Regions from separate parts of the Homo sapiens genome. Here all the other regions are linked to region 2. Evidence: promoter capture Hi-C in human tissues and cell types (Jung and others, 2019). All regions are on one chromosome and are shown on one strand. Each heading gives the region's core, a stretch centred on a gene start or on the middle of the fragment in contact. The rest is flanking DNA. Distances are from core to core; before and after follow the strand shown. Region 1 has its middle 7.6 kb from the start of RCAN1. Region 2 holds the start of MRPS6 (mitochondrial ribosomal protein S6). Region 3 overlaps IFNAR1 (interferon alpha and beta receptor subunit 1). Region 4 has its middle 5.1 kb from the start of CLIC6.

The links. Contacts are between HindIII fragments. The study calls those that stand out against the background at their distance.
Region 1: a contact is called between a fragment that was not itself captured here and the fragment with the promoter of MRPS6 in region 2, in 1 of the 25 tissues and cell types used here (heart left ventricle).
Region 3: a fragment that was not itself captured here is called in contact with the fragment with the promoter of MRPS6 in region 2 in 2 of the 25 tissues and cell types used here (aorta and liver).
Region 4: a fragment that was not itself captured here is called in contact with the fragment with the promoter of MRPS6 in region 2 in 2 of the 25 tissues and cell types used here (IMR-90 fibroblasts and lymphoblastoid cells).

The regions. Positions count from the first base shown.
Region 1 is chr21:34,619,295-34,626,032 of GRCh38, forward strand. No RefSeq gene overlaps it. Among named protein-coding and RNA genes, the nearest start is that of RCAN1, 7.6 kb to the left of the region's middle. The HindIII fragment of the contact is 3,113 bases long and covers 3,899-6,738 here.
Region 2 is chr21:34,072,318-34,079,192 of GRCh38, forward strand. MRPS6 (mitochondrial ribosomal protein S6) reads left to right here and starts at 1,261. Exons shown (of 3, transcript NM_032476.4): 1 at 1,261-1,428. The coding sequence starts at 1,384. It overlaps SLC5A3 (solute carrier family 5 member 3), which reads left to right and starts at 1,261. Exons shown (of 2, transcript NM_006933.7): 1 at 1,261-1,428. RefSeq lists silencers at 709-1,228, 1,519-1,918 and an enhancer at 1,172-2,122. The HindIII fragment of the contact is 15,607 bases long and covers 1-6,296 here.
Region 3 is chr21:33,359,317-33,366,580 of GRCh38, forward strand. IFNAR1 (interferon alpha and beta receptor subunit 1) reads left to right here. Exons shown (of 11, transcript NM_000629.3): 11 at 1-548. Among named protein-coding and RNA genes, the nearest start is that of IFNAR1, 38 kb to the left of the region's middle. RefSeq lists a silencer at 1,907-2,201 and enhancers at 7,087-7,264, 7,237-7,264. The HindIII fragment of the contact is 4,809 bases long and covers 1,871-6,679 here.
Region 4 is chr21:34,660,368-34,667,456 of GRCh38, forward strand. No RefSeq gene overlaps it. Among named protein-coding and RNA genes, the nearest start is that of CLIC6, 5.1 kb to the right of the region's middle. The HindIII fragment of the contact is 6,731 bases long and covers 535-7,089 here.

The sequences.
Region 1 (6,738 bases), core at 4,205-6,704, 550 kb after region 2:
CCTTCATGTCAGCCATTGCAATTACCCAATATAAAAGGAGAAGAGGCGCTCAGAAAGCCATGTTTGGTTATTTTTGTTCTTAGCACCTGTCTCTTACATCAATTGCAGCCCAGTTATGCAGACGTGCCTATGCGTGGATAAATGAGCCTATTCATTTGCCAGGTGGGAAAGTTTTACTCTAGATACTTTTAGTTGCATCCTGTTTTATTCTGGAAATTAAAGGACGCTGTGTTCAGTAGTCACTTGCCAAGTGTTTATTAAATGAACCAAAGGCATTTCGGCACATTCTGAGAAATTATAGACATTTAAAAAATTCATTTAAGGTGGAAGGCAAATTGCTGACTTTCTGAGTGTTTGCTTTCACAATGAATGAACAGTTCCAAAGACTGCTTCAATGAATAAACCCCTTAAATAATTCATTTGGAAGGCTCTATTTTGTTACCACCTATGAAATGAATAAAAATGTTATGCTATTTTATTATTATTGTTTTGTTTTATTTTAGCAATAGGAACTTTTTTTCCCTACTCGAAGTTCATTCTTAAAACCCATTCTTAAAATTTTCTGTTATTTTTGATGGTATTATGAAACTTTTTAATTTAGAAAGATAGTTATAAATTTGATTTGAGGGAAAATAGTAGATTTTGGTGACTTTGTCTAAGTGTGGAAAGGAACTTCACTGACTTTGACCTTTCTCTAAGTTCTCTTTGAAGCGTGCTGGCACTCATGTGACTTTTATGTTGAGTTAGGAGTCTTCTGGTTGCCAGTAACCACAACCTCTGAAGCCAGTTTAAACAGGAGATCATTTAAATTAAGGATGTAAGGCAACTCTGGAAGCCTAAGGTGAGAATATCGCCTCGGGAAGGGTCTAGAAGATGGACCCTGATGCTGCCTAGAAGCGGGCTGTCTTCTTGGGCCCTGTTGAGGCCATCAGAGGTGGGGGATGGACACATAAGCAAATGGGCCTCCACTTCTGAAAGTCAGCAGCCCCAGCATCTCCAGGGAGCGCTCATTGTTCAAAAGGTCTTCCTTTGTTTCAAGCTAAAAGCACTGCTCCTGCAGGAGTATTGCACACTCTCCAGAAGCCAGATAGACCTGGCCTTCATTCAGCTCTGTCCTTTATTATCTCTCTGGCCTCAGGGAAGCCACTTGACCTCTCTGAGGTCCTGTGTGTAAAAAGGTGATATAAATAGCTTCCTTTCAGAGGTGCCGCAGAGGTCAGACACATGCCCAGCTAATGCCTGCCATGGAGGAGTGGCTCAGAATGACAGGACCTCAAATTCTCTTCGTCCCAGGTTTTCATTTTAAGATCGCCTTCTCTTCTGTGTCACAGCCTCTTAACACAAAATAATAAGTAAATAGATCTTCCCCTCTGGCCAGCTTCTCAGGAGTGAATACCAGGGCAGAATCTGGATCCAGGACCAGTTAACTGTTTTGCTTGTTATGAGTTCTTTGGATTTCAAGACAGATGGTACATTAACAACTCATCCCACCCCATCCCTGCCCTATGGACAGGTTTCCCTGGCTTCCCTTGGAAGCCACCTGTGTTTGCTGGGCCAGCCTGTCCTGAGATCCGCCTGATGTCACTGACATAATCCCAACAGGACAGATTTCCTTTAAGGCAGGGATGTCCAATCTTTTGGCTAGTCTGGGCTACACCGGAAGAACTGTCTTGGGCCACATACAAAATACGCTAACACTAATGATAGCCAATGAGCTAAAAAAAATTACAAAAAAAAATCTCCTTATGTTTTAAGAAAGTTTACGAATTTGTGTTGGGCCACATTCAAAGCTGCCCTGGGCTGCATGCAGCCTGCAGGCCGTGGGGTGGATGAACTTGCTTTAAGGGGTTGGGGTAGGGCATCCTTGGTACTTCTCCCAGTGTCCTCCCTCAGGGTTTTAACTGCTGTGATGCGTTCCTTCCTTAATTCTACCCTATACTGTAGAAGTCATATCTTACTTGCTAGTGATGTTGAATAGTGCCTGGTGTGTTGAATAATGATGCCTTCATGCTTGTATACTCACCCAGAGGAGGGCTAAAGTGACAACACTAAGCAAGCCTTGTCCGGGCCTGACTCAGCCTGACTTTGGCTCAGGGGACTTCTACACTCATTGGGATGCTGTTAAAGTTTGACTGTGTCCCCACCCAAATATCGTCTTGAATTGTAGTTCCCATAATTCCCACATGTTGTGGGAGGGACCCAGTAGGAGATAACTGAATTATGGGGATGGTTTCCCCTATAGTGTTCTCATGGTAGTGAATAAGTCTCATGAGATCTGATGGTTTTATAAAGAGAAGGCCCTTTTGCTTGGCTCTCATTCTCTCTTTTCCAGCTGCCATGTAAAATGTGCCTTTGCTCTTCCTTTAACTTCCGTCATGATTGTGATGGCTCCCCAGCCATGTAGACCTGTGAGTCCATTAAACCTCAGTAAACCTCTTTCCTTTGTAAATTACCCAGTCTTGGGTATGTCTTTATCAGCAGCGTGAAAGCAGACTAATACAGATGCTATGTGCAGAGCATTATCTAGATGCTGGAGCTATGACGGTCCACAGAACAGACAAGGTCCCTGACTTCATGAAGTGTACTTCCTAGTGGTGGTAGTGGAGGGAAGGAGAGAGATGGACAATACATAAAATAAGTAAATACAACATGTAGATGTTGATGATATGCATGGTGAAGTACAAAGGAACAAAAAAATAAAGCAAAGAAAAGGAACTGGAAATAGGGAGGAGGGAGGATTTCAGCTCTAGCAACCAGGGAAGACTGAAGAAGGGGGAGAATGCCATGGCTACTTCTGGAAAACAGCACTCCAGGCAGAGGAGAAAGTGCAAAGTCCTGGGGGCAGCAGCTGCTCATCTTGTTGAAGCAACACTGCAAAGGCTGTGATAGGTTTCTTCTGGGGCTGGGTGAGTGATCAAGGGGGTGAGTAGTGTAAAGTTCAGAAAAGTGATAGGGTCAGATCATATAGAACTTTGTAGGTCACAGGAAGGAGTTTGGGTTTCATCCTCATTGAGACAGGGAGCTGGTGGAGGCTTGAGCAGAAAGTAGCTAACCTGATCTTTCTTACAACTACTAGGAGGACTCACTTGGGAGCTGTGTGCACAGAACACTGTGTGGGGACAAGTGTGGAAACCAGAGACCTCTCAGGAGGCTGTTGCCATCATCCCAGTGGGAAAAGGTGGGAACTTGGGTCTGGATGGAAGACCCAAAGTGGTAAGAAAATGGTAAGATTCTTTCTATATTTTGAAGGCTCAGACAACAGGATTTCCTCAGGGTATTAGTTCCTTATGGATGCGATAATAAATTACCATAAGCTTAGTGGCTAAAACAATACAAATGTATGGTTCTGGGGGGCATAAGTCTAAAATGGGGAAACGGGGTCAGCAGAACTGTGTTCCTTCTGTGGGCTCTGAGGAGAATCGCTATTTTTTTTTTCTTTCTGAGACAGAGTCTCTCTCTGTTGCCCAGTCTGGAGTGCAGTGGCATGATCTCTGCTCACTACAACCTCCGCCTCCCAGATTCAAGCAATTCTTCTGCTTTAGCCTCCCAAGTATCTGGAATTGCAGGCGCACACCACCATGCCCAGCTAATTTTTTATTTGTACTTTTAGTAGAGACGGGGTTTCGCCATGTTGGCCAGGCTGGTCTTGAACTCCTGACCTCCGGAGATCCATCTGCCTCAGCCTCCCAAAGTGCTGGGATTACAGGCGTGAGCCACCGTGCCCGGCCTATCTGCCATATTTAGAGAAAAGGAGGCATCAAGACTGACTCCAAGGCTACAGGAAGAAGCTGCCTCTAACCTGGATAAGGTAGACTGTGAGAGGGACAGGTTGGGGAACAGCTATCCTTAGCTTACTTTGGAGCAATTCAGGATTGAGAGACCCCTTAGAGGTGACAGTGGGGGGACAGGGCTCTAGATGGCATCTAAAGCCACTGGGCCACTGAGATCCCCTAGGGAGTGAGTGTAGCTGTTGACAAGAGAGTCTGGGGTCTGGACCAGGGGCACAGTGACACTCAGACACCAGCCAGCAGTGGTGCCTGAGAAGGGGGGTCAGAGAGGCTCAAGAGCCACCAGGCAGGTGGGGTATTCTGGAAGCCAACAACAGAAAGGGCTTCCCAGAGGAGGGAACCAGCGCTGCTGAAAGTCAGCTTGGGAAGAGCCCTCTGTGACTAGCGCTGCTGAGAGGTCAGCTTTGTGGGGACAGGGAACTGAGTTTGGATTTCCAAGTTTGGCAGTCCTTTTTGACCTTGGCAAGATAAATTTTGGAGAATTATTTAGAAGTAAAAGCCCAATTGGGAGCAGAAAAATGGAAGATAATGAGTGTAAGCAACTCTCTCAAGAAGTTGTGCTGTGAGGAGAACTGAGAAGTGAAATAGTACATGGAAGAGGAAGTGGGAGTGAGGGGAGGGTTTCGTTTGGTTGAAGATGGGAGAAGCCACCCCAGGCCTGTCTGCAGGTTGGGATGATCCAGGAGAGAGGAAAGCTTGATGACCGGGGCTGGGAGGGGGAGAGAATTTCTGCAGCCATCTCTATGGGAAAGAGAGAGCACCTGGTACATGAACAGAGAGGCGGGTCCCAGGTGGCAAAGCAAATCTGTCCATCGACACTGAAGGAAAGCAGCATGTACCACGGATACCCTGGGCATCAGTGCATGGGACGATGAAATATTGGGGCAGGGCTGGTGAAAGCCACTTGTGTTCATCTCCATCTTCTCAGTAAAAGAGGAGTCTGAGTGTGAGGATGAGGAAGGTGGCATTGAGTGTTGAAGGCAAGAGAAGAAAATGTGAAGTGATCTTCTAGGAATGTGGGAGAACAAATGGACTAGAAAAATATAGGAGGATTATATATGCACACCAATGTCATATGAGTATCAATGTCATATGAGTATCAAATATGTATACAACATGCAAATATATGTATATATATTAATGTTTACATGCAATTACGATATATACATATGTTAGTAGATATAAGCAAATATATTTATATGTCTTATGTATAATATGACACATGCTGCAACATAATTATAATCTATAGTATCTAATATGTACTAGATGGTATATGAATATATGTTCATACATCATACATGAATATAGCAATATAGGCAGATAAGATATGTTACAATGTATTATTAAATTGTGTATATTATATGATGTGCAATAAAAACACAAGTATTTATGACTTATCTGTCTCCTCCACTCTATCCAAAATATATGTAATGCACGTTATAAAACATAAAGAGAAATAGGAATTTTTAAAGTATAAGAATAGAGAAATAAACACAAATATAAATATGTCTTGAGCTGTCATCCTCATTTCATCTAGAGTGGAATCTTGATGAAGGGAAGCTGTTTATTTTCACTACCACTCTGCCCCGCCTAGAATGTCCTGGGCCTAGAGGGGGACTTCAATAAATATTTATTAAATGAATTAATGAAAAATGTATTTTATACTTGAACTTAACCAAAAGGCTGAGAAACGATGAAAAATATATCTTATTTATTCAGAATCAAAAATATTTTGTTTTCTTAAAAATCTCCTGTTATTCTCAATGACTTATTAACAATGTCTTAGTCAGTGTAATGTTATTAAACATGCCTCATCCTTTTGGGAAATCGTGGAGAACCATGAGCAGCATGGAGTGCTGTGCTTACTAAATCACAATATCCATTTTTCAATCCCATCCACCAAATTTAGAAGGGATTATTATTATCACCGAGTAAATTTCCATGCTCCTTGACATCAATGAGTTGTTTTTTCATATTAATTGGAAGTTGTTCGTTTTTATGTTTCACAAATGGGTTTTAAAACTCACAGAACCCCTTGGAAGCTTTTAGACAGCTGATAAAATTGTGTTTCCTAGTTTAAAGTGCAAGATATGAGAACTTTTATAGATGTCACACATCGTTTTTTGGCAATAAAATCACTTAATGATGGAAACCTTTCCAAACTCCTGTTTTCAAGATATTCTTACTGTAGCACAAGTTTCTGGCAGACAGTGATTACTTTCTCACACATTGTTAACTGGCATCTTGTGCTTGAAGGGCCAGGTCAAGCTGGTTTATTTATTTATGTTAAATCATCACCATGGCTCGAACCTTGTAACCTGGCTGGCAGTTGCTCATGCGCAGAGGGGAGATGTACCAGCTCTGTTCCTTTCTTGCCATTCATCTCTGCTTATGTCCTTAGAAATAGCTTCATACCTTAAGTTCTAGGGTACACGTGCACAGCGTATAATAATGATAATAATAAATAAATAAATAAGTAAAAAGAATCCTGAAAAAAAAAAAAAAAAGAAATAGCTTCATACCATTTCTTAGCAGGCATCCTTGCCAGACACTTGCCTGTTTGTGTGAGGACTGGCTCAGTTAAAGACTAGATAATATAAACCACACATTCTCTTAATGAAAATTTGGGATCTGCAATAACAGCACAATTCTGGAAGCAGAGAAGGTGTGTGGAGCCATGTCAGCCCACACCACCTGGCACCCCAGGTGCCCATCAGGGGGCCTAGTGCACCCCTCTGATGCCTGTCTGGCTTCTGCAGCAAGAGCAAGCACCAGGGTCAACCCACATAATAAAGCAGCAGAGGAATAATTTTCTTTTTTAGAAAAAAGAAAAACCTAATATAAACAGAAGCGCTAATATTTTTCACTCATCCCAGTGAGTGGAGGTCATCACCTTCCACCATGGAGACCTTGACCTATAGGGTGGATGAGCGGGGAATGGTGGGCAAAA
Region 2 (6,875 bases), core at 11-2,510:
CCAAGCAAAGAATCTTTGTCACCTCAGGGCTGTTGTGAGAATTTTAGGAGACACATCCACCAGCCTTGGCATGGGGCCTGATGCAGAGTAAGTGTTCACTAAACTTTACCTATTAACGTTAAAGCACTTTAAGTTGACAAACACTCCACGTACAGAGCTTTTAATGGGGCAAACAAGGGGCAGAGGCCTCAGCTGCAGGGTACTCAACCTCTAAGGAAGGGCGCTGGAGAAAACTGCACTTGCAGAGCCCCTGGCTGGAGGGCGGAGAACCATGTGGGTGTAAAGGGATGGCAAGGGCAGAACGTATGCCCCTGCCCACCTTAGACAGTTGCTAAAGGGTCTCCCAGGCACTCAGCCTAGCCTTTAAGTGAAAGCGGAGGAAACATTTAAAGAAATGAGATAGAGTTAAGGTGTTCGCCTGCCCTCCGCTGAAACACGTGGGGGCAGGTCAGGGGCACACCACAAATGCCCGTATCGCGCCTGTGTGTACCAGGCACCGTCCTCGGAGGTTAACGTGCAGTAACTCACTCGGGTCCCCACTTTCGGCACAGGCAGCAGGCCCAAGGTCACGCAGTGCCAAGGGACTGAGTCAGACCCGAGCCCGCGCGCCGCGGCCCACGGCCTGTGCCAGCGCGCTCCTCGCCGGGTAGGGGGCCTGGTCAGCCGCGTCAGACCTGAGAGTTGTGGCTGGGGGCGAGAGCTGCACCCCCCTACCGACCCCGGGCGGGAATGTTCCAGAACCCCTGCGAGCAGCCGTTGGCCGCACAGCCCCCGGGCCGGCCGCGACCCCGCCTTGCGCCGCGAAGGTCCCTAGCTCCGGGGAGTCGCGGGCGAGGGGCACGCGCACGGACGAGACCGCACCGCAGCGCACGCGCACTGGCGGGCACTCACTCGCCCGCCGCCCGGGAGGAGAAGGAAGGCATGGAAAGTTCCAGCCGGTTCGAGAGCTAGGTAGCAGGCATGGCAGGAGGCGGGGTAGGGGCAGGCAGGGTCGCGAGGGGGCGTGCGGCCGCCGCGAGCCGCTCTGGGCCGCGTCTGCAGCACCGCCCCTAGCCGCGGCCGGCGGGCTGGGCTGGGGTCGGGGCGGGGGCGGTGCGGCGGGTGCGGGGCTGCGGAGGGGGCGTGGCGGCCGCCCGCGGGCGGAGAGGGGGCGGGGCGGCGGCAAGGCGCGCGGGCGGGGCGGGGCGCGCCGAGGGGGCGTGGCGCGGCGTCTGCGCAGCTGCCAGCGCCTTTAAGCCCGGGCTCGCGCTCTCGGACCGTGCTTTCGCCGCCTGGGAGCCGTCCGGCGCAGCAGTTTCTAGGTCCCCACTGTCCCCGCCGTCCCGCCCCTTCGCGTCCCGGGAACCGGCTGGCTTCCGAGCCGCACTCGCCGATCCTCCAGGCATGCCCCGCTACGAGCTGGCTTTAATCCTGAAAGCCATGCAGCGGGTAAGTGACCTTCCCTCAGAGCCGGTCTTCCCGCGCGGGCGCCCCCGCTGCCGCTAGGCCGCCGTCCCCCGCGCGCCCTGGCCGCGGGACCCCGGGCCTTCCTGCACTCCTCGGAGGAGGCCGGGGCGGCGGGCGGGCGGCGGGCGTCCGCGGGAAGGGGGCGCGCGTGGGCCGGCCGGGCCCGGCCGCGTGCGCGCGGGAGGCGGGGGTGTGCCTGCGCGTGTGCGCGGTCCGGGAGGGTGTGCCTCGCAAGCGGCCCGCCGGGCGGGGGGCGGGGCGGACCGAGCGGGCCCCGACCCCGATCCCGGCGCCGGCCCGCGGGAGTCCAGTGGAAGGTCCGCGGGAGGACACGCGCGGGCGCCCAGCCCGACTCCGGCCCGTCCCCGCCAGTCGTGAAGCTGCCTCGTCGCCGGCCCCGCCGCCGCCGCCTGGTCCGTCCCGCTCCGCCGCCCGCCGGCTGCCGCCGACCGCCTCCGCTCTAGCGCCCGCCGGCCGCCCGGAACGTCCGCGCCCAATAAAGCGTTCCTCCAAAGCTTGTTTGTGCCGTTGTCTGTATTCCAGTCTCTTGCAATCGCTCTCATGTTAAAAAAAAATCTTTTGACTTTTCTTTTTCTGACTTCAGCGAAAATCCCGCTCCGGGTGCCCTTAGCCCAGTTTCATTCATCCAAGTTGTGGCCTTTCTTGCGCCTCCAGAAGACACTTTCTTCCCCCTGCTTTTGATTGATCTTGAGGTAGGGGATTTCAGGTTTGGAGGGATGCTAAGCGAACCAGCGGCCCCTTTCAGGTGACGGCGTGGCCAAGGACAGGGGCCCGCGGCCCGGAGGCAGCTCACTTCGTCCTCTGTCCTGGGTCATGTACTCCTCAAGTCGTCGCCGAAATCCCCATTCTCCCGTGAATTCGGAATTCGGTAACGTAGTTTGGTGTTATGTTTTTTTTTCTCCACCAGGTGTAATAAAACAAAAATCATTGTACCACGTCCGAACTTTGTAAGCACAGCTTCCTACAGCGCTAGAGGAGTGGACGCATTTTTACGTTTGAAATTAGGCTCCAGGTCAATTGCGAGGAGTATTACCAAGTTTGGTTGAACTTAAGCTCAATTGATAAACTAACAATCACGGAGCGTCGGGAGATTGTTAGGAAGTGTGCTTTGCATATTGTTAACTGGGAAGGGACGCCAGTGCCTCTCTATGAGGTCCAGACAGCCTGGCCAGGCATGCCATTGTGTCCCCCAGCTTGTTCTTCATGGATTTGGAAGAAGTTAAGATAGTATCTGTTCAGCCTCTTGAATATCCCTTTTGGCCCTCCTCCTTGCTTACCAGCATATGTAACTCCGAAAGGATAGGAGCAGTGAAAACAAAGCATTATTAAAAGGGAAGATTTTTAATTAGGTGGAAGTTGTTTAAGCCCTCCCTTCAACTTACGTGTTTTAGGGAATGTGGAACCTGGGAAATTCGTTACTGAAATTCCTTTTGTTTACTTTCCTTGTCTTGGGGAGGTAGCAGGTGACACTGAAAGAGGCAACCTGTAGGCAATAATATTTGCTCATTCTGTAACCCTTTGAAACCTTTGAAATGAAGACTTGCCCTCCCCTTTGTTTTTGCCATAGTTGCCAAGTATCTTGGTTAACATGGCTGCAAGTATTAAGTGTATTTCTTTTACCATTTTTTTTTATGTCCTGTAATAACATAGCCTTTGGATGTGGAGCACCCATTTTTCACTCTAGTTCAGATCAACAGAGCGTAATTTGGTTAAAATAATAAATAACCTTCCTTGAAATCTTCGCATGAGGGAAGGGGGGCAAAAAAAAGAAAAAAAGCCCTAGAAAGTAGATAATAAAGGTGAACTGCCTCTTGGAGAAAGAGGCCCCATGGCAGTAGATAGAAGGTTGTAACAGTGGTGACTTATGTACAATGGCGAAGTTATGTTGAGGAGATCCTTGACCTAAATAAAGTAATATTAAACAATAGCTTCTCAGTTATTTGTTCAAAAACCTATCTGTAGCTTGTAAATGTGGCACAAACACAAAGACTTCCAGGTTTTAGACCAGTTTGCTTGCTTTCAGTTTAGGAAAATAGGATTCTAAAATAGGATGAATGTTTGGGGGGAAACGAATTTAAAAAGTTAACTCTAGGCTTATGAAATGAAAAATGCGACTGTGAGCTTGCACACCGGTAGCAGGCCTTGGAGAAACCACAGTTCTAACCCGAGGCACTTTGTGCTTCTGTTGCAAGAAGGGTATTGAAGCTCCTCAGTTCAAAGTTGCGTATCTTCCACGTTTTTAGATTCTTAAGTGTATACCTCTTTACCCCTTTAATATGATGTATTTTCCTTTCCTCCCCAAATCATTTGTGCATCTTGGAATTGAGGAAAATGCTGTGTTAGGCAACTTTAACAGCGGATATGGAAGTTAAGAAACTATAGTTTTCCAGCCTTTGGACTCCCAGAGCTGCTCTCCTGTTTTTTCTCCGCAGTACTCAGCCTGGAGAGCATTCTTAGTCTGTTTGGAGAATATTAACTCCTCCCTGTCCTCATTACTTTTTTTTTGACCCTAGCTTGACTCCTTTAAATTGAGCTTGCAAAGTTTTAAAATTTAAAATACAGGCCCTGTGTTGGCTGTCACAGTATCTGGATTGTAGCAAAGTCAGTTGCGGGAATGCCCATTGAAAGATTTCAGAGTGTATTATGTAGAGTCAGTCATATTGAACTATACAGTTGTACAATTAGTCACCCAGAAATTCCAATACTATGTTTTTCTCAGTTTGCAAGTAGAAGTTGATTATGAGTATCTACTTTTGTACTTCCAAGTTTGGGCATTTAGGAATGTAGTTAACTAGTGTTTCTAAGAAGAAATTTATTTTCAAGTACCATATAGCTTGATTTTTAAAAAAGTGTGTATATAAAAAAAGTTATTTCTATTTTCTGTTTTAGCGTGAAAAGTAGGTAAAAGTGTGGTTAAATTCTGAAATATGACGGTAAAGTAATGGATGTTGTGAAACTAGGCCTTTAAAGGTGACAAGCAATTTGAAAAACCAGTTGTTTAGACCAGTCTTAGTTCATATTTATAGAAGAGTCTCTGGAATAAAAAGATTTTAAAAGTCCTGTTACACCCATATCAGATAGCATCAAGAGAGTTTTATTCACTTCTGGAAAACACAGTATTCAAAGGCTGTAATGTGAAAGGACATAGCCGCAAAGGAGAGACCAAGGCTGCAGTCCCAGGTAGCCTCATTTCAGTGTGAGGAAGACCTCTGACAATGGAAAAAGAAATGGATTGCCTGTGAGATGGTGAGGTCTATATCCACCTCCACCCTGCCCCCCCTGCAATGAGAACTTTGAGGTAGATGAGGAGAAGGGGTCATGTGTTTGGTGAGTGAGCTCTCTTGTGAGTGGGAAAATGGTTGAAGCCCTTTGGTTTCACTTGATAATTAGATTTTAAAGGTTGGTATTTCAGTTAGGTAAAAGACTGAAGTGCCAATACATGAATGGTAAAGCCGCATACTGTATAATGTAGAGGAGCTTAGGAAAAAAATGAAACTTTGTAGACACTTTTTATGCCTTGGGTATACAGGAAGAAGAAATCTGAGGAAAGAAATCTGTGCAATACATAAGTATTTTGTGGTTACTTTAGGAACGCTAATTACGTCTCGTGCCCTTTTCCCAGAAGGTGTTCACAGTTGGCATAGATTATGAAAGCCCTGGGATAATACTTTTCCTGAAATCTTCTCATTGGCGTTCAGGAATTTTTACATGAAGAATTAAAGGTTAATGGCTTAATAACTAATTCACTTGCTAAATGATTCCATTGCATGTACAATAAGATAGCATTTATATATATATATCTTCATATGTTTTTCTAATAGGAATAAAGAAGATAGCTATTTTGGAAATCTTAAGTTCTTATTAAAACAAACAGTAATTTTTATGTTTAATACTCAACGCAGATTATATTTTACATTTAGATAACTCATTGAAATAGTACTTTGGTAGGGTAAGGAGTTTTGTGTAATCTGAGTTTGAGTTCTGACTTGGTTTAATTTGAATATAGAAAAGTATAATCAGTTCCTAAAATGTAGAAAACAGTTGGTTTTCTGGTAGAGTGATGAAGAGTTTTTCTCTAAATGCAAGCCTTTTTTGATTAGAACACCTGGCAAAAGTTTTGTATTTGTTCTAGAGTTCTATTCAAGTTAGGATGTTCTGAAAGTAATGCCTATGAAGTGCCTGTATTTTAGATACCCTTTGGAGATGGAGGGTGCTAATAAACTGAAGTATGAGTCAGGTCAACCCTAGGTCCTTGTAGTTTGCTTGGCAAGCATTTGATAACTAGGAAATAGTGAAGTTTCTGCTGTGTGTTGGTGGGAGACATCAGTTCAAACGGAAACATCTAGCTGTCAAGTGGTCTTTTTTTTCTTCCCATGGGCCCTCCCTAAACAGCTTAGCCTTGTATCTTTAATAATCTCTCTTTGTGTTTTATCTGCTTGAAACCAGGCAACTTAAAATAGTTACCTAGTAATGGAAGACTTGACCCTGTGAACAATGTTATACTTTCATTTGGTATTAAATTTTCTTGGGTTACAGCTTATTGCCGCAGCAAGCTATTGAAGAAGGAAGGAGTCCTGTTCCTGCCCCTGAGCTACAGCTAAGGTACAAGGAATGGCTTGGGGGTAAGGAGTCCTTCCTCACCAGATATGGTTTGTATGTATGAAGACTGCTTGTCAGAAGTTGACATTTTGCACTAATTTTTTTTCTTAATTCATGACTCACACATTCAATACTGATGTTTCTAGATTTTAAAAATCTAGGTTATATCTAGTATTATATGCAGACTATTGAATCTTCTAACCTTTTAGATTATAAAATCAGTTTCAAAAAATTAAGAGTTCAAAAGCAATGACGGGAAAATTCTGAAGTAATATTTTTCATCTAGTGCCTTTGCTGTGTTTGTACTACTACATGTTTAACTCATCTAAAAGAAACCTGGAATACCATAATGGGGTTTAACATGAAGGTGGAAGGAAGGGTAGAGAACAAATGATAAAATACTGTGTGATTACTCATGTTATAAAAAGTTGTTGCAATTTGATTATCAGACTTTTCCTATTTAATGTTCTTAGCTTTGTGTTAGAATTTCCAATATACTCATGAGTTTATCTGTTTTTAGTGGAAGGCAATATTTTTAAGACGTGTTATCAACACATGTAGTTACCTCTTAGGGGAATCCTTACTTAAGGAATTAGTCAAATGAATGTCTGGTAAGTTATCAATTTGTCTAAAGGAAGAACTACCCTTGGGTTTGGAAAGTGACAGTTAATTCAGCCTCTTATCCTTTTTGTTGCTTTGAAATTAGAGCAAGAGTTGGCAGCCTGTGGCTTCCGGGCCAGATCTGACCTGTCACCTATATTTTTGTGGCTTGTGAAGTAGGAAAAGATTTTACAGTTGAATAGGTGGGG
Region 3 (7,264 bases), core at 3,025-5,524, 710 kb before region 2:
TTTTGTACTTAGTGAATTTGTATGCAACAGAGATGCTGCAGCTGATGCCTTTAAAAGGTATTCATCATGGAAGAGCTGAGGCCTGTGCTTGGTGTTCCAGAGCCCAGGGTTGAGCATCCTGAAGGAGCCACTGCAGCCGTCACTGTCCCCAGAGCCTGTGGAGATAGAGCCTGTTTGCTGCTTTTTCTTCCCGCTCTTAAGACATGGCTGGAGCTCAGTCTTCATTGAATGAAGTTTGCTGTGGTATTGCATAGCCTTGCTTTCTTGAACTAAACTGTTTGCCCTTCACAAGTAGTTCTTCTTTCAGGATTAGTTCGTTCCAAGGAGGCTCTTCAGTCTCACAGATAAGTAGATCTCTCCTGCTGTCTGGACACATTTCACTCGGAAATTGAATACAATTTGTATTCAGGCTGGGAACCTGAACACACACTTGTGTTTTTAAGCTTCCCTTTTTTACAGTGGACAAGGACACAAATAATAAATAAATCATCCCTAATGCCCAAGAAATGCCCTGGTACTTAGTAATAACAAAATACCAGTAACTTCCAGTTGTTTCTCACTACCTTTTTTCTTGAGTAGGATGATAATAGAATTACAACTCTTGAGGGCAACATAAATATAGGTGGATATTTGTGGTATGATATTGATGGAAAAATAGCAATCTTTTTCTTTACCTGAGGGGAACAAAGGCAAGAGGAGAATTCGATAGTTCTCATAACAAAGGATTTCTGAGTTTTCCTCCCCTTTCTGTGATCTGTCTCCACTTGGAACTCATGTTCTAGCAAAGGACATTTTGTGGGTGAAGAAGTGATTAATGATTAGGATGAAGAAAATGTTGGCAGTTCCAGCCTGGCCAACATGGTGAAACCCCGTCTCTACTAAAAATACAAAAATTAGCCAAGCATGGTGGCATGTGCCTGTAATCCCAGCTACTGGGGAGGCTGAGGCAGGAGAATCGATTGAACCCGGGAGGCGGAGGTTACAGTGAGCTAAGATCGCACCACTGCACTCCAGGCTGGGCGACAGAGCGAGACTCCATCTCAAAAGAAAAAAAATGTTGGCAGAGAAGATGTTCTGTTGTTTTTTTTTTTTTTTAAGGTCTTGAGAAAAGGGAGGAAGTTGAAAAATTTTATCACTCAATAGCTGGATTAAATTAAACATTACGTCTCACAGTGACTCACCACCCTTGAGCCTCCCTCCCAGATTTTCTGGATACATCAAAGTTAAGAAGAAAAACCTATTTTCCTATCTTTCCAGTAAAAGGACCCTTTTTTCTAAACATAGTCCTTAAATATATAATAGGCTTTTTGTGTACTTGACTCTGTTGTCTATTCCCAAATTTTATAATACTTTTAATATTCTGGAATTGTACTTAGAGAGATTATTCTAAATGTTGTAGTATAAAAGTACATCATCCACTCTGAAATCTCCCTAAAAGAACTCCACTGCATACACGTGGAGAAGTCATCATGCCCCATCTGTGTCTGTACCTGCGGGTGTGTCTAGCATGCTCCCTAGGGAAGGGATTTTATACCATTTGCTTATATTTATTTGGCAAGCTCCATGAAAACAAGGACTGTTTTTTAACTTTGTGGCTGACACTTGGTTGCCTAAGTGTTTAACGGTGATTGAGCGGGGACGTTGACGGTACAAACACTGATTGAATTTACCACTGGAGGGCAACAAGTCACCCTGTTCAGGCTGACAATCGGTTACTATTCAATAATTCCATTCCCAGAAGATACGCCAAGTATGTTTATACAGGTGGTTTCTTAAAGTTCTGTTTGTGATTATCTCGTCTTGAGCAAATGAGGAAAGGATGTGAAGAATCTGGTGTCCCCATGATCTCACCCAGAAATGGTTTGGTAGTTACAAAGCAAGATAGAGCAGTTGAGCAAATACTTAGCCCATCTAGTCCTCTACCACTACCACCTTCGCCTTTTAATGAGCAGGACTTTGTAGTAAGCGAGTTGTTGAAAAGGAGCTCCACATACTTAGTAACAGCCTCGGAGCGGATGGAAAGAAGTAGGCATTGCTGCAGAGCTGAGATGAACCTGCAAGGAGACAGCCTTGGCCCCAGGGAATGATCACTGCACTGCGCCCCCTACTGGCCTGGCTGAGATGACTAGCTGTGATTCCCTCCTTAGTCTCACCTGTTGAAGATGGCGCAGAACAGTTACAGCCATGATCAAAAAAGATAATTAATACTTTAGTGTCTCCTGCCCTATCCGCCCCCAGGGAGAGGCCAGACCATTCAGGGTGCCAGCTGGAGGTTATAAGGGTGGAGTGTGGAGACAGTGTTTCGTGTCACTACTTCCTTTTTTTTTTTTTTTTTTTTTTTTTTTGAGACAGAGTTTTGCTCTTGTCGCCCAGGCTGGAGTGCGGTGGGGCGATCTCGGCTCACTCCAACTTTCACCTCCCAGGTTCAAGCAATTCTCCTGCCTCAGCCTGCTGAATAGCTGGGATTACAGGCGCCTGCCACCACGCCCAACTAATTTTTCTATTTTTAGTAGAGAGCTTCCTGATAGCTGAACATGCAGAGGCTGCTGGGAAGGGCATAGAATCTCTGCAGTCCTTCTCACATACCTTATCCTATGTATCTCTTCATCTGTATCCTTTGTAATAGCCTTCATAATAAACCGGTAAACATAAGTTAGTGTTTCCTCTAGTTCTGTTAGGCAATCTAGCAAATCAGTTGAACACAAGGAGGGGGCCATGGGACCCTCAATTTATAGTCATTCAGTCATAACAGGTAAAACCTGGGGCTTGCAATTGGCATCGGAAATAAGGGGGCAGTCTTGTGGGAATGAGCTCTCAACCTGTGAGATTGAAGCAGCATGGTTGTCTGGGGTAATACGTGTGGTTTGTTGCCCCACGCCAAGGAAATCGAGGATGGGGACACAAAAGGAGTGGGTTCAAGAGCGGAAGTTTAGCAGGCAAAAGAAAGAAGAGACCTTCCCTGTGCAGAGGAAGGAGTCCCGAACAGGTTTCCGGGTTTACAGCGAGATGCGGTTGCTTTTATAGATGAGCTTGAGGAAGCGGTGTCTTATTTACGTAGGGCACAGAGGATTGGTTGGACCAGGTGTTCCATTTACATAGCACAGGAAGAGGCTGGCCATCCCACCCTCATCTGTTATTATGCAAATGGCACCTCTACCTAGCCCAGGCCTTGTTGCCTGCTTTTTTACTGCACACGTGGCAACAAAGAAAAGGGAAAAGGGAACTTCAATATTGAATATACCTGACTTCCAAGTATCCCTTTCCTATTGGCACAGCTGCTGGCATTCGCCTATGCAAGCTTCCAGTTTGCTTATCTATGTTTGCAGCTTGAGTTTTCAGGCTCTTTTTGTTAGAAAAGAAATGATTTGGGGCTTCTTTTTATTAAAAGGCAAACCTTACTGAGGACTCTTTTATCCTCACTAACTGCCTAAATAAATTTTGTTTAGGTGTTGTATCAGGATCTGATGCTATCTCCAGGTAGACAGTGTCAGAATTAAATAGGAGGATACCCAACCAGTGTCTGCTGCAGAATTGATTGCCTTCTTGTTAATGGGGAGAAATCACTACGCATTTGGTCACAGAAGTCTTCTGTGTTTATTGTTGTGGCATGAGAGCAGAGGAAAAACGGTTTGAGATTTTTCCCCTCAAAAACATAGGGGAAATCTTCATGATATTGGACTTGGCAATGATTTATTGGCTATGACACCAAAAGCACAGACAACAAAAACAAAAGTAGACAAATGGGACTACATCAAACTTAAAAACTTCTGCATATAAAAGGAAATAATCAATGGAAAAGACAACCTTTGGAATTGGAAAAATTATTTGCAAAATATTTGCTTTGATAGATTAGCAGATAAAATGTGGTGTTCACATGCCACGGAATATTATTCAGCCTTTAAAAAGAAGGAAATTCTGAGGCCGGGCGTGGTGGCTCACGCCTGTAATCCCAGGACTTTGGGAGGCCGAGGCGGGCAGATCACGAGGTCAGGAGATCGAGACCATCCTGGCTAACACGGTGAAACCCCGTCTCTACTAAAAATACAAAAAATTAGCCGGGCGTGGTGGAGGGTGCCTGTAGTCCCAGCTACTCGGGAGGCTGAGGCAGGAGAATGGCGTGAACCCGGGAGGCGGAGCTTGCAGTGAGCCGAGATCGCACCACTGCACTCCAGCCTGGGCGACAAAGTGAGACTCCGTCTCAAAAAAAAAAAAAAAAAAAAAAAAGGAAATTCTGTCATGTGCTACAACATAGGTGAAGCTTGAGGACATTATGTATGCTATGTGAAATAGGCCAGCAACAAAAATATAAATACCATGTGATTCTACTTACATGAGGTTTCTAAAGCAATCTAATTTCTAGAGACAGAAATTAGACCGATGATTGCTGGCGGCTCAAGGAAGGGGAAAATGGAGAGTTGTTCAGTGGCTATAAAGCTTCAGTTTTTCAAGATGAAAAAGTTCTGAAAATAGGTAATACTACTGAATTGTATGTGTAAAATGGTTAAGATAGTAATTTTTTTTTTTTTAAGAGACAGGGTTTCACTCTGTTGTCCAGACTGGCCTCAAACTTCTATCTCAAGCGATCCTTCCGCCTCAGCATCTGGAGTAGCTGGGACTATAGGTGTGCACCACCACACCCAGCTTTAAAAAGGTCACTATTTTACTTATTTATTTTTAATTAGGGCAGACTTAACAGTAAGTGATTCATCCTTGGTTTCTGATACATTATTTCCTCCTTTTTCTAAAGGAAGTCTGCTCTCTGCCATTATTTTATCTGCCCAGAATACAAGTATAGTAACGTCTTATTACAAGCTATACAAATCCTTTTTCAAAGTGAGTGTGCAGACTGGGCTTGGCGGCTCACGCTTGTAATCCCAGCAATTTGGGAGGCTGAGGTGGGTGAATCACTTGAGGCCAGGAGTTTGAGATCAGCCTGGCCAACATGATGAAACCCCATCTCTACTAAAAGTACAAAAATTAGCGGGGCATGGTGGCACACACCTATAATCCCAGGTACTCGGGAGGCTGAGGCAGGAGAATCACTCGAACCCGGGAGGCAGAGGTTGCAGTGAGCCGGGAGTGCACCACTGCACTCCAGCCTGGGCAACAAAGTGAGACTCTGTCGTGAGTGTGCAGTTCATCACGTAGGCTTGTGTTGATGTCAACATAAGGCAAGTACTTCCTCATTGCTCTACATCAGTGAAGAAATGTGAACACCAAGGTTTAGACTGAGAAGTAGGGCAGGGAGATTGGATGGAGGTAAACTTTAAACATTTCATGTCTTAATTTCTGCTTGTTTACCCCCAAGAGAATTTTATAAATCCATTTATTTCTTCATGTTTTAATTAACATCTAAAATATTTCCTGACACGTTTAAATAGTTGCAAAAGAAATACTTTACAGTAAGTTGTAAATATTCACATTTTAAAATAAACTTGCTTTATCGCTCTTATAAATGCATTCAATGGAATCTCCTATCAAAGCAATTTGATACCCATCATTGTCTACTTTGAAATTACAGAAACTCGGCCAGACATGGCGGCTCACTCCTGTAATCCCAGCACTTTGGGAGGCCGAGGCGAGAGGATTGTTTGAGTCCAAGAGTTCAAAACCATCCTGGACAACATAGTGAGACGACCTTGTCTCTACAAAAAAATGAACAGAATTAGCCAGGTGTGGTGGTGTGTGCCTGCAATTCTAGCTACTTGGGAAGCTGAGGTAGGAGGATCTCTTGAGCCCTGGAGGTCAAGGTATAGTGAGCCAACATTGTGCCACTGCACTCCAGCCTGGGCAACAGAGCAAGACCCTGTCTCAGAAATATTTTTTTAAAAATTTTTTTAAAAAGAAACTCCAGAAACTGTTCTTTATGGGTTCTGAAACTTTACACCATTTCCTTTCCTCCTTGAATTCATATTCTTATTCCCACAAAAGTTCATCTTCATGCAGTAGATTTATTGATCATCTATCGTATATCTTTGCAACAAAAAAGTATATAAATTGATATATTTCTTTTTATATGATCATAGTCTCTGAATGTTAAAAAGAAAAAAATCTGGTTGGGTGCGGTGGCTCATGCTTGTAATCCCAGCACTTTGGGAGGCCGAGGTGGGTGGATCACGAGGTCAGTAGTTCAAGACCAGCCTGGCCAAATGGTGAAACCCCGTCTCTACTAAAAATACAAAAATTAGCTGGGCACGGTGGCAGGAGCCTGTAATCCCAGCTACTCAGGAGGCTGAGGCAGAAGAATCACTTGAACCCTGGTGACAGAGGTTGCAGTGAGCCAAGATCAAGCCACTGCACTCTAGCCTGGGGGACAGAGTGAGACTCCATCTCAAAAAAAAAAAGAAAGAAAGAAAAATAGCTTTTCTGGATTATTATTGCAATTATTAGTATACAGTTGATCAAATATTTCATAACCTTTGATAAATAATTTTTCAGCATAAAAAGTCCAATTTCACTGGAAATGCATCTCTTTTATTTATTTACTTATTTATTTATTTTGAGACAGAGTCTCGCTCTGTCACCCAGGGCTGGAGTGCAGTGGTGCTATCTCAGCTTGCTGCAACCTCTGCCTCCTGGGTTCATGCGATTCTCCTGCCTCAGCCTCTCGAGCAAGTGGGATTACAAGTGCATGCCACCATGCCTGGCTAATTTTTTGGATTTTTAGTAGAGACAGGGTTTCACCATATTGGCCAGGCTGGTCTTGAACTCCTGGCCTCAAGTGATCTGCCTGCCTCAGCCTCCCAAAGTGCTGGGATTACAGGCATGATCCACCACACCCTGCCTGGAAATACATCTCTTAATTAACTGGATGGAGCTTCTTCCCTCTTCCTTCAATGCCTGCAGGTGTCACAGATGAACATGCCTTCTTGCCACATGGAGACAGGACCTAGTGCCTCTGCTGCTCCTGTTTTCCATGTTTTGGGGTGAGGCTTTGTGATGGGCTTGGAAGGAATCCCAAAGTGTCACCTCCACTCGAGTCTTTGGATTCTTTCTGATTTATAGGTCAAAAGCTATTTAGTGAACATTTATCAAAAATTATCTCTATCTAGTTGCTGAGCATGATATGAAAGGAAAATAAAAACTCGGGACTCCAATTCACTCTGCCAAAAGAAAAAAACTAAGCTGAAAGCTGAGTCATGCAAGAAGCTGCCTTTCCTTTTGTTCCTAAGCAGAGAGCTAGAGGTAAAGGTAAGTGTCTTGGGGGGGATATTTAACCTACTCTGTGTTCACCTTATCTTCTGTAAAGTGCTGATTTTCTGAG
Region 4 (7,089 bases), core at 2,650-5,149, 590 kb after region 2:
CATGCCCACTGCTCAAGAACCTGAGGATCTGTCCACCTACCTGGCCTACCACTGCCACTTCTGCCACCCAAACAAGCCTCCTAGAGGCTCAAGAACTGGTTCACTTGGACCTGCTAACACCAGTGCTAGTGTATCCTGCCCTGAGGCTCAAGGACAAGCATGCTCAGTCCACTGCTGTCATCAATGCACTGGTACCCAAGGACTGGCTCATTTGATGTTCCTGTCCCCAGCAAAACACTTCACCATAGGCTTTACTAACACCACAGTCTAAGCCACTGAGGAAATCAAAGATGGCACAGATTCTGTTTACAACTGAAGAAATCATATGGAGAGTATACTACTGCACACACCAAGAATCAAAGCCAAAGTGCTGTGTGCTACTCAACCAATACCACAGATATATCTTTAGCAAAAAAATCCTCTCCTATTATAACAAGTTCAAAAAATTGAAAGAAGCAACCACTACACCAGATGTGCAGATATCAATGTAAGGACATAAGAAACATGAAAAAACAAGAAAATATGGTAACTCCAGAGGAAGACATTAATACTCCAGCAACAGATTCCAATGAAAAAGAAATATATGAAATCCCAGGGGAAGAGTTCAAAATAATGATATTAAAGAAGCTCAGTAAGCTACAGGAGAACACAGAAAAACAATGCAAGGAAATGAAAAAAAACAATTCAGGGTATGAGTAAGAAATTTGCCAAAGAGATAGATATCATAAAAAAGAACCAAACAGAAATTCTTGAACTGAAGAATTTACTGAATGAAATATAAAATACAATCAAAAGTTCAAGAATAGACTATATCAAACAGAAAGAATTTTAGAACTTGAAAACAGGTGTTTTGAAATAACCCAGTCAGACAAAAATAAAGAAAAAGAATAAGAGAATAAACAAAGCCTATGTGACATATGGGACACCATAAAGTTATGAAATATTAAAATTTTTGGTGTCCCAGAATGCAATGAGACAATGAAAGGGACAGAAAATTTATTTAATGAAATTATAGCTAAAAAATTCAACAGAATTAGACATCCAGATACAGAAAGCTCAGAGATTCCCAAATAGATACAATTCAAAAAGGTCTTCATGGCACATTATCATCAAACTGTCAAAAGGCAAAGACAAAGACAGAATTCTAAGACCATCAAGAAAAATGTATAAAGTTACTTATAAGGGAATTCCCCTTAGACTAACAGTGTATTTGTCAGCAGAAACCTTACGGGCCAGGAGAGAATGAGACGCTATATTCCAAGTGCTGATAACAACCAAACTACCCAATTTGCCAGCTAAGGATACTATTCCCAGCAAAGTTATCCTTCTTAAATGAAGGAGAAATAAAGTCTTTCCCAGACAAGCAAAAGCTGAGGGAATTCATCACCACTAGACTGGTCCTACAAGAAATGCTTCAGGGAGCCCTATATCTGGAAATGAAAAGATAATATCTACCATCATGAAAACACATGAAAGTATAGAACCCACTGGTAGAGCAGACACACAAGTGGGAAGAAAAAGGACTCAAATGTTACCACTACAGAACACCACCAAACCACAATGATGAATAATAAGAGATAAATAAAGGAACAAAGTATATACAAGACAACCAGAAATCAATTAATAAAATGACAGGAATAAGACTTCACATATCAATAATAATATTAAATGTAAGTGGATTAACTTTCCACTTAAAAGATATAGACTGGCTGAATAAATAAAAAACAAACACAAGCCAACTATATGTCACCTACAAGAAACTCATCTCACCTGTAAAAACACAAATAGACTGAAAGTAATGTGATGGAAAAAGATATTCCATGCAAACAGAAACCAAAATCAAGCAGCAGTAGCTATACTCATATCAGATGAAACAGACTTTACGTCAAAAACGCAAAAAGAGATGAAGAAGGTTGTTATATAATGATAAAGGGATAAATTCAGCAAGAGGATATAACAATTATAAACATATATGTATTAACACCAGAAAACCCACATATATAAAGCAAATATTATGAGATCTAAAGGCAGAGATAGACTTCAGTACAGTAATAGTTGCAGACTTCAACACCCCAGTATCAGCATTATACAGATCATCTAGACAGAAAATTAGCTAAGAAACATTGGATTTAAACTGGCTAAGAACTCAAAAGCACAAACAACAAAACCAAAGACAAATGGGCTATATTAAACTAAAACGTTTCTGTACAGCAAGGGGAATAATCAACAGAGTGAAAAGACATTGTGTCAAATCAGAGAAAATATAAACTATCATTTGATAAGGGACTAATATCCAGAATATACAGGAAACTCAAAAAACTCAACAGTAAAAAACCAAATAATACAATAAAAAAAGTGGGCAAAGGACATGAATAGACATTTCTCAAAAGAAGACATACAAATGACCAACAGGTATATGAAAAAATGCTCAACGTCATTAATCCTCAGGAAAATGCATATCAAAATGACAATGAGATACCATCTTACTCCAGTTAAAATGGCTATTACTAAAAGACAAAAAAATCAGATGCTGATAAAGATGTGGTGAAAAGGGCACTGTTGGTGAGAGTGTAAATTAGTACAGCCACTATGGAAAACAGAATGGAGATTACCAAAAAACTAATAATAGAACTACTATATGATCCAGCAATCTCACTAAATGGTTATTTATCCAAAGGAAAAGAAATCAGTATAAAAAAGGGATGCCTGCACCCCCATGTTTATGGTGGCACTATTTACAGTAGCCAAGATATGGAATCAACCTGTGTCCATCAACAGAGGAATGGATAAGGCAAGTGTGGTATATATATATACACACAATGGAATATTATGTGGCTATAAAAAGAATGAAATTATGTCATTTGCAGCAACACAAATGGAACTGAAGGTCACTATGAAGGTCATTATGTTAAGGTCAAAATGTTGTATGTTCTCACTCCTATGTGGGAGCTAAAATGGTTGGTCTCATGGAGGTAGAGAGTAGAATGATAGATACCAGAGGCTGCAAAGGGAGTGTGGGTGAGTAGGACGATGAAGAGAAGTAGGCTAATGGGTACAAACATACAGTTAGATAGAAGGAATAAGCTTTAATGTGTGGTAGCACAGTAGGGTGACTATAGTTAAGTTAACAACAATATATTGTCTATTTCAAAATAACAAAGAGAGAGGACCTGAACTGGTCCCAACACATAGAAATGATAAATACTTTAGGTAATGGATACCTTAAATACCCTGACTTGATCATTACACATTCTACGCATGTAATAAAATATCACATGTACTGCATAAATAATGTACAAATATGTATCAGTGAAACAACTGACAATGACAAGGTTCCTTTTATAACCCTCACTGTTCCAGATGAAAAACTGAATCAAGATCATATAGTTATTACGAGATAGGGCAGGGATTTAAATCAGACCATTTAATCCAAGAACCACCCATTTCACCATGATTGTCATGTGTGTCAGTTCCATGTAATGTTCTTACTGACCTGCAAGATGATGTGTACGTGCTTCAGGATCTACTGACTAGCAGGCTTTGAAATCCCTGCCTCCTAGTACAACCTATTCTGCAGTGACACTCTTCTTTTAACTGAAATGTACCTTACCAAGTAACTGAAGAAAGCCAGCCAGATTAAGAAGCGGGTTTGGGGCCACTTGTAGGTAAGTGAGTGCAACTGTTTGAGGAGAATTCCAGGCAAGGAGAAACTTTACTCAGCTCTAAGTGTATCCTGTGATCTAAATGTTACAGATACATTATAATCCCACGGGCTCTTCTGAAAGGAGCAGATACCTGCTAGAGAAAGAGCAGATTTCTATGGAGATGAGGCCATTCCTTCTGGAAAAGCAACAAAAGCAACAAACCCTTACATTGTTTATAAGCCCTTAAGGTTTTCTTGTAATCCGAGTTTACCTGCTTCATGATTCCTTATAATATATGGCAGAAGGACTGTATAATTATTAAAAGTTACTTAAATATCAACGCTTTCATTTCTTGTCATCCACCTCTGAATCTGTCACCTCTGTTTAACCCTCCCTGGTATTTAAATAGCTAATCTAGTGTTGGAGGCCAGGTTAACAACGTGCACGTCTCTAAGTGACTTCATAGCGACCTTCACACGTCTATTTATTTGGTATTTCCTTTGTGTTCCTTTATATGAACTGACTGAGCCCTTGCTAATAATTAAAAGAATTTGCTAAAGTATTCTTTTGGCAAAGTCAGTAGATAAGAATTTCTGTAAGTGGCTCATGCCTGTAATCCCAGCACTTTGGGAGGCCGAGGCGGGTGGATCACGAGGTCAGGAGATCGAGACCATCCTGGCTAACACGGTGAAACCCTGTCTCTACTAAAAATACAAAAAATTAGCCGGGCGTGGTGGAGGGCACCTGTAGTCCCAGCTACTCGGGAGGCTGAGGCAGGAGAATGGCATGAACCCAGGAGACGGAGCTTGCAGTGAGCCGAGATAGCACCACTGCCGTCTGGCCTGGGCAAAAGAGTGAGACTCCGTCTCAAAAAAAAAAAAAAGAATTTCTGTGAATAGTGTGTCTTGTGACATTAGCTTGCCCACCAAAGTATAAAACTAACTGAGAAAAGTATTTTCCAAAACTAGTTCAGGTTGGTGCATATGTATTTGAAGGCACGTGTGTATTCACTCATTCAGGAAATATTTATGGAGCTCTACTATGTGCCTGGTCTATCCTAGGCAATGACAAGCAAAAACCCCTGCTTTCACAGAATCACCATCCTAGTGGGGTGAGGTAGGGCAGACAGATAACAACTAGAATATATTATGTGTCAGATGAAGATAACTGCTATGGGGGAAAATAAGGCAGAGAAGGATGCCAGAGAGTAGGGGTTGTGTTTTAAAATGGAATGCTTGGGGCGGGCATGGTGGCTCATGCCTGTAATCCAAGTACTTTGGGAGGCCAAAGCAGGCGGATCACGAGGTCAAGAGATCGAGTCCATCCTGGCCAACATGGTGAAACCCCATCACTACTAAAAAAAATACAAAAATTAGCTGGATGTGGTGCCATGCGCCTGTAGTCCCAGATACTCGGGAGGCTGAGGCAGGAGGATCACTTGAACCTGGGAGCTGGAGGCTTCAGTGAGCCGAGATCACACCACTGCACTCTAGCCATTTTATAAAAGTAAAATGGAGTGCTTGGGGAAAATAATTAATCAGAGACTGCAGCAAGGTAAGGGAGTAAGCCATGAGAATATAGGGGGCATCCCAGGCAGAGGCCCAGCAAGTTCTAGGGACGGCAAGCAGGCTGGTGTTTTAGGGGCTGCAGAAGTCTAGTAAGCCAGAAAGAGACTGGGATTGCCTGATTTTATAGGACCTTATACTTCATGCATAAAGACTTGACTTTTTCTTACTGTGAGACAGAAAACCTTTGAAAGATTTTGAGCATAAAAGTGGCATGGTCTGATTCATGATTTCCAAAGAGGATCAGCTGGCTGTGGAGTGGAGAGCAGACTGTCGAAGGCCAGGAACTAGTTAGGAGGTGGTGGCAATAATCTAGGTGACAGGAGGTGATGGTGACTTGGACTGGTACAGTGGTAATGGAGATAGAGAGAAGAGGTTGGATTTTACGTGTGTGAGTGTGTGTGTGTGTGTGTGTGTGTTTGTGTACTTTCTAGTGATGGCATCTCACTATGCTGCTTCCAAGCTGGTCTAGAACTCCTGGGCGCAAGTGATTCTCCTGCTTCAGCCTCCCGAGTAGCTGGGACTACAGGTGCACCACCATGCCTGGCTTTGGGTATATATTTTTAAAAAGTGAAGCCAGTTGGATTTACTGGCAGGTTGGATGTAGGGTTTGGAAGAAAAGAGCTAAGGTTTTCAGTTTGGGCATGTCTGTGCACACGTTGGCATATGTGTCTACATAAAGCTTAATGTTATCCAAAATTATCTCATTTCTTTTTTTACTTATTTTATTTTTATTTTTTTTTTGCTTTATACCATTTGAAGAGGGACCTTCCCAGTCTTGTTTATTGCTGTATATCCAGTGTCTGGAACAATCTGTCTCTTTCTCTTTCTCTCTTAAAAGAAAGTATTTAGCTATCGGTAATGTGGTTACAGAAAAATTGTAAGGAGCTGTTATTTTCTGTCTTCTGCATTTTCAGCATTGAGCCTGCATTTATTTAAAAACAAACTTTATTTAATTTCAGAAGATTGAACAAATTTGCAAAATTATATAATAGAAAATTTTAAAATGCTTATTATCATTAAGTGAAAAATTCTACATTCTGCAGACAGAATGTTATTTTGAGAGCCAATGTTAATGTGAGTAAATGACCCCAAACCCTATAAAAGAATAAATCCAAACCCTATAAGATCAAATAGCCTTGTGTGATCCACAGGATCAGTTTCCAGGACAGAATAGACTTTATTAGCATTGTTTTTCTGCAAGGACATTATTCAGGCCAGTTCTCAGCCACTCAGCCAACAGCTTTGTTTCCGACTGTGCCAAGTCTGCAAACAGTAGCTGATCATCTTTAGCTCAATTCAAAAGGAGGTTTTTCTAGATATTCCAACCACACCCCCCCCCAATAGCCAGCACATTTCTATCAAGTTTGATTGAGTTAGAGTTTATGAAATATTTCCTGAATGACTGAATACACACGTGCCTTCAAATACATATGCACCAACCTGAACTAGTTTTGGAAAATACTTTCCTCAGTTAGTTTTATACTTTGGGGGGTAAGCTAATGTCACAAGACACTCTATTGACAGAAATTCTTATCTACTGACTTTGCTAAAAGAATTTGCTAAATATTATTACTCGCATGAGTGTCTTTAATTTGGTTCTTTGTAAACATTGAGCATTGAAGACGGTTTGTTATTAAGGACAAAGTTATGTATCTAACTAATCTCACATTTTTCTAAGCAGCGCAAATAAACCCAGAGCCCTTCAATGGTTCACAGGTCCACAATCCTTTTATACACATTCTGAAATCCTAAAAGGCTCTGAATACTGAAAGCTGTTTTGGGAACTCATCTAGAATCAGAACCAGAAAGGCTTGAACTCAGCTGGAGGTGAACCTAAACTGGGGGTGGGGGGCCTGAAGCTTGTATGATTTTACCAT